Linked DNA regions of Homo sapiens: region 1 is linked to region 2. Evidence: promoter capture Hi-C in human tissues and cell types (Jung and others, 2019). All regions are on one chromosome and are shown on one strand. Each heading gives the region's core, a stretch centred on a gene start or on the middle of the fragment in contact. The rest is flanking DNA. Distances are from core to core; before and after follow the strand shown. Region 1 has its middle 31 kb from the start of GPRC5B. Region 2 holds the start of KNOP1 (lysine rich nucleolar protein 1).

What was found. The method cuts DNA at HindIII sites, captures the fragments that hold promoters and counts their contacts. A contact is called where the count stands out against the background at its distance.
Region 1: a fragment that was not itself captured here is called in contact with the fragment with the promoter of KNOP1 in region 2 in 2 of the 25 tissues and cell types used here (adrenal gland and dorsolateral prefrontal cortex).

The regions. Positions count from the first base shown.
Region 1 is chr16:19,914,283-19,917,243 of GRCh38, reverse strand. No RefSeq gene overlaps it. Among named protein-coding and RNA genes, the nearest start is that of GPRC5B, 31 kb to the right of the region's middle. The HindIII fragment of the contact is 7,764 bases long and covers 1-2,961 here.
Region 2 is chr16:19,716,796-19,719,829 of GRCh38, reverse strand. KNOP1 (lysine rich nucleolar protein 1) reads left to right here and starts at 1,603. Exons shown (of 5, transcript NM_001012991.3): 1 at 1,603-1,672. It overlaps IQCK (IQ motif containing K), which reads right to left and starts at 1,559. Exons shown (of 9, transcript NM_153208.3): 1 at 1,343-1,559. The coding sequence starts at 1,523. RefSeq lists an enhancer at 1,350-1,679. The HindIII fragment of the contact is 15,091 bases long and covers 1-3,034 here.

The DNA of each region.
Region 1 (2,961 bases), core at 451-2,950, 200 kb before region 2:
TGTGAGTACATTGATAACCCTCAGGGGCAAAGTCCCTCCCGACCATAGAGACAGGGCTGCCACGTACAGCCTCACAGGATGCACACTGCACAATTTCAGAACGTGACATTCACATATGCTATTATTTAACTGGTATTCTCTGGATTTGTGCAGTGCACAACCTAGGTAACTATATACAGTTTCCCTGCCCATATTTCCAGTAGTTCAGCGGGGAAGATAAATTAAACAAAGCAGTATATATTTATTTTCATTGGAATCAGGGCAATTAAAAAAAAAGAACCATGTTGCTAAAAGAGAGAACAAATAGACAGATCTATTTTGAGTTTCACATAAGCCATTCAGAGAAAGTGATATTTATATACATTTATTTATTTATTTATTTATTTATTTATTTATTTATTTATTTATTTGATACAGAGTCTCATTCTATTGCCTAGGATCCAGGGCAGTGGTGTGATCACAGCTAACTGCAGCATTGACCTCCCAGGCTCAAGCAATCCTGCCTCAGCCTCTCAAGTCGCTGGGACCACAGGCACACACCACCATGCCCGGCTAATTTTTGCGTCTTTTGTAGAGACAGGGTTTCGCCATGTCTATCAGGCTGGTCTTGAACTCCTGGACTCAAGTGATCCACCCTCCTTGGTCTGCCAAAGTACTGGGATTACAGGTGTGAGCCACCACACCCAGCCAGAAAGTTATATTTAAACCAAGACCTGGTATTTGTCAGGAATTTTATTTAGTTGATAGTAACAGAGGCTGGACTTAGTAGCTTTAGTGAAACAGAGCTTCTTTTTTCGCTTGTTCCACAGGAAATCAGAAAGTAGGCAGCCCAGGACTGATTTGGGAGTTCCAGCAGTTATCAGGACCCCAGCCTCCTTCTGTCTTTCTGCTCCATACCCCTTAGCATGTGGTTTTCATCCTCAAGGTTGTCTCATGGTCCAAGATGGTTGCCAGAGCTCCAGCCACTACATCTGCCTCACAGACAACAACATGGGACAAGGACATTAGAGACATAAGGGACGCCTCCCCAGTCCACTTAAGGAGCTGACCATAAGTTTCACAAAATATTCCACATCCATCTCATTGGCCCAAAACTAGTTACGTGAATATCGCACGCTGGAAGAGAGGCTGGGGCATGTGAGCTCTAAAGAGTTGCCCAGGGTTTTATTACCAAAAAGGGGAAATTATGATTGAGAGGTAATACGTAGCCCCTGTTATGGACTGGGAGAATAAACGGGAGATAATTAAGTGAAAGTGTTGTGGGGAGCAGGTTCCAGGCAGAGGGAATAGCAAATACAAAGGATCCAAGAGAAGGAGGTTGGGCCGGGGCACAGCGGTTCACACCTGTAATCCCAGCACTTTTGGAGGCCAAGGCAGAAGGATCGCTTACGCCCAGGAGTTTGAGACCAGCCTGGGCAACATAGAGAGATCCCGTCTCTACAAAAAATACCAAAATAAATAAATAAATAATAGCCAGCCGCGGTGGTATGTGAATAAAAATAAAAATAAATTTAAAAAATACTCTGTTGCCCAGGCTGGAGGGCAGTGGTGCAATCATGGCTCACTGCAGCCTCGACCTCCTGGGCTCAGGTAATCCTCCCATCTCAGCCTCCTGAGTAGCTGGGACTACAGGCACATACCACCATGGCTGACTAATTTTTCAAAAATAAAAATAAAAATATTAAAAAATAAAATAAATTTTAAAATATTCAAAAATAAAAATAAAATTTAAAAATATTTTTGAATATTTTAAATATAGTGGGCCGGGCGCGGTGGCTCACGCCTGTAATCTCTGCACTTTGTGAGGCCGAGGCAGGTGGATCACCTGAAGTCAGGAGTTCAAGACCAGCCTGGCCAACATGATGAAACCCCCTCTCTACTAAAAATACAAAAACTTAGCTGGGTGTGGTGCCACACTCCTGTAATCCCAGCTACTCAGGAGGCTGAGGCAGGAGAATCACTAGAACCTGGGAGGCAGAGGTTGCAGTGAGCCGAGATTGCACCACTGCACTCCATCCTGAGCAAGAAGAGCAAAACTGCGTCTCAAAATAAAATAAAATAATAAATAAATATATATATATTTAACGAGCGAGATTCCATCTCGAATTTGAATATTTAAAATATTCAAAAAATTATATTTTAATAAAATTAAAAATAATTTTTATTTTATTCAAAAATAAAAATAAATTAAAGAAATAAAAAGAAGGAGGTTGGTCTGTTCTCAGAACTGAAAGGAGACCAGCATGGTTGGAGCACATTCAATGGGAGAAGATGAGGAACCAGGGGAAGGAGAAATACCCAGGCTCGCAGGCACATCAGCAAACCCAGCTGCATGCCTTCCACTCTGGGCGAAGCCTTGGCATCAAACAGACCCATGTTCATATTCTAACATCACCTTTTACAACTGAGAGCCCTCAGGTAAGTCTTTTAACTTACCTGAGCCTCCACTTCCTTACCTGTAAAACAAGAATTATACCTGTATGATTTCTTATTTGAATAAGAATTTGAATAATAGATTTCTTATGTGAATTAAATGAGATAATGCATATAAGGAGGTTAGCACAGCGCCTAACACATATTGAGCACACAGTATTATTGATTCGCTACACATTGACCATGAAGACTTACGTGATTGTGGCCTAGTCAAGAGTCAAGGTTGTAACTCCAGGCTCGAGCAAATTCACTGGCTTAGTGCTTAAAAGTTAGTCATAGTTAGTGCTTAACGTAAAAGTTGGGTATGGGACAGGCACAGTGGCTCAAGCCTGTAATCCCAGCACTTTGGGAGGCTGAGGCAGGCGGATCATTTGAGGTCAGGAGTTCGAGACCAGCCTGCATGGTGAAACCCCACCTCTACTAAAAATACAAAAAAAAATTAGCCAGGCATGGTGATGCATGCCTGTAATTCCAGCTACTCAGGAGGCTGAGGCACAAGAATCACTTGAACCCAGGAGGCAGAGGTTG
Region 2 (3,034 bases), core at 354-2,853:
TGATGACGGGTGCCTGTAATCCCAGCTACTCAGGAGATTGAGGTGTGAGAATGCTTGAACCCGGGAGGCGGAGGTTGCAGTGAGCCCAGCCAGTGCCACTGCATTCCAGCCTGGGCGACAGAGCAACATGCCGTCTCAAAAAAAAAAAAAAAAAAAAAATTTGAGTCCAACAAGAAATTCAGTTACTCAATTGCACTAATCACATTTCAAATGCTAACTAACCACACTTTTTTTTTTTTGGGGATGGAGTCTCGCTCTGTCACCCAGGCTGGAGTGCAGTGGCGCAAACTCGGCTCACTGCAACGCCACCTCCCTGGTTCAAGCAATTCCCTTTCCTCAGCCTCCCAAGTAGCTGAGATTATAGGCGCACACCACCACGCCCAGATAATTTTTTTTTTGTATTTTCAGTAGAGACGGGGTTTCACCGCGCTGTTTCAGGCAGCTTAGGTAGTGATGGTGGCCACACGAATGAAAAATCTGAGTCCTTGACCTTGAGGAGCTTATGGTCTAGTGGAGGAAAAAGAAAACATCCCACCCAACATTATTCATTAAGAACTAGCGCTTACGTAGCTCCTTCTGTAAATCGAGCAGTTTGTGTTTTTTTTTCCCCAATAATCCTTTTGCCCTCCTAAAATCAGGCAGTTTGCTAAGCACTTTTTGTGACTATCTGGTTCCATCTTCTTAACACCATCGAAATAGGTGCCATTATTATGCCCACTTTGCAGACAGGGTCATAAGTTAAATAATTTGCCCAACCTAAGTAACAAATACTGAGTAGAGCCACAAAGGAAGATGTGCTCAACTCCGCCTGGGGAGGTTAAGGAAGGTTTGAAGCAAGAAGGGACTAAAACCCGTTTGTCCACACCATGGTTACTGAACGTGTGGGCCACCGACTACCTACGTTAGGATTACCTGGGGTGCTCTTTTAAAAAGTGCAGATTCCCTGCATCCCAATTTGAAGCTCTGTGGGCGGGGCCTGGGAACCTCCGTTTATAACAAGATCCCCACCCCGGCCCCCGCCCCAGCAATTCCTTTCGGTTCACTAACCGAGGTTTAAGAACCAATGGTCCACACCGCATGGTTCTCTTTATTCAGCTTTCCCTCGCCGTTCCCTTGCCTTTAACCTCACTACGGATCGCGATTGGAGTCCGCGCTGCGTAACCTCGGGCCAGCCTCTCCGAGCCTCAGTTTCCCCATGCGTAAAATGCGGAGCCCGGGCCCGCGGAGCCGCTGCCCGGCGGCCCCGCCCGTCAGCCGACAGGCGCACAGTGGGCGCTCCCCAAACGCGGCCCCCGTCCGGCCGCCCGGGTCCCGCCCCTCTCGGCCAGCCCAGGTTTCCTACCCTTGCAGATCTGCTCCCACAGATTCTTGCTTGACGGCTCGGTGACCTGCCACGACGAGACAGGCAGCTCGCGGGACGCGAGAGACACGGTGGGCACCGGCGTCCGGGTGAACGACGAGTCTGTAGAGCAGCTGGGCTTGAGGCGCACTATGTGGCTGGGGATTTGCCGCGGTGCCGCCATGGCCGCGGTTTCCACGGTAACCGCGTTCGCCGGAAGGCCGCGACCCGGAAGAAGCCGGAACCCGAGAGGGTGGGCCGGCGACTCGAAGTGGACTTCCGGGTCACGGCGGAGCTGGCTCTCACGTGGAGGCGGGGAAATTTCGCCCACCGGTGAGTGCCAGGGCGCGTTGCAGGCGGGCCGGCGCGGGGTGTGGAGATTGCACCAGAGGAAGTGCGCGGCGGGGAAGATGGGGAAATGCGGTCCACCCACATCCCTGAATCCGACCCCTCCAGTCGGTGTGCGCCCGCTCCGGCCTGAGGCCGCCGCCTCCAGAAAGTTTTCCCGCCTCAGAGCCGGCCCTGGGACCCCACGTAATCCCTCCCAGTCTGTTGATGCGGAGGCTTGGGCCCATGGGAGCCTTGGAGGTACGGATCTTACTTCCTGGCTCCCGCGCGTCCTGCTGGTGATCCTGCCGGGGGAGTGGGGTGTTGCTGCACAGGCTTTGGAGTCCTGTGGGCGGAATTCCAGTCTCCGTTTTCCACTTGCTGGCTTTGGAACCTAGGGCAAGTGAATTATTGTAGTCTCTGGAGCTTGCGAGGTCGGGTATTCACAAAGATCTTCACAAGGCTGTCCCTGGAATTTAAAAGCGGTTTTGGAGAAAGCGTTTGCGTTTGCAGGAGATGCACTGTAACGTTCTTTTCCTTTCTCCTTGAAAGAGTGAATGCATTTGGTCGCAGGGCTAAAGAGGAGGATGCTATACTTTTCTAAATGGCAAGAGATGGGGAGAGAAGGGGATTAAGAGTTGACCCGCAACCTCCCGGTGGATTCTTTGTTCTTACCAGATCTCTTGGCCACTCCCCTATTCTGAAGTCGTCTTGGCTCTCTTGACTGCTCCCCTATTCTGAAGTCGTCTTGGCTCTCTTGACTGCTCCCCTATTCTGAAGTCGTCTTGGCTCTCCTGACTACACTATTTCAAGGTTTGCACCTTCTTCTTTGCAAGCTCCTTTATCTCTGCCCACTTATTTAAATGCCAATACAATAGTCCCCCTCCCCCATTATCCGCGGGCAGTACGTTCCTAAACCCCCAGTGGATGCCTGAAACCACAGACAGTACCGAACCCTAAATATAACTGTTTTTTCTTGTGTATACTATCTATGAGAAAGTTTATAAATTAGGCACAGTAGGGCCGGGCGTGGTGGCTCATGCCTGTAATCCCAGCACTTTGGGAGGATGAGGCGGGCGGATCACCTGAGGCCAGTAGTTGGAGACCAGCCTGGCCAACATAGTAAAACCCCGTCCCTACTAAAAATACAAAAATTAGCCGGGCGTGGTGGTATGTGCCTGTAATCCCGGCTACTCGGGAGGCTGAGGCGTGAAAATTGCTTGAACCCGGGAGGTGGAGGTTGCAGTGAGCCGAGATGATGCCACTGCACTCCAGCCTGGGCAACAGAGCCAGACCTTGTCTCACAAAAAATTAGGTGCAGTAAACGATTACCAACAATCTAGCTAGTAATAAAATAGAACAATTACA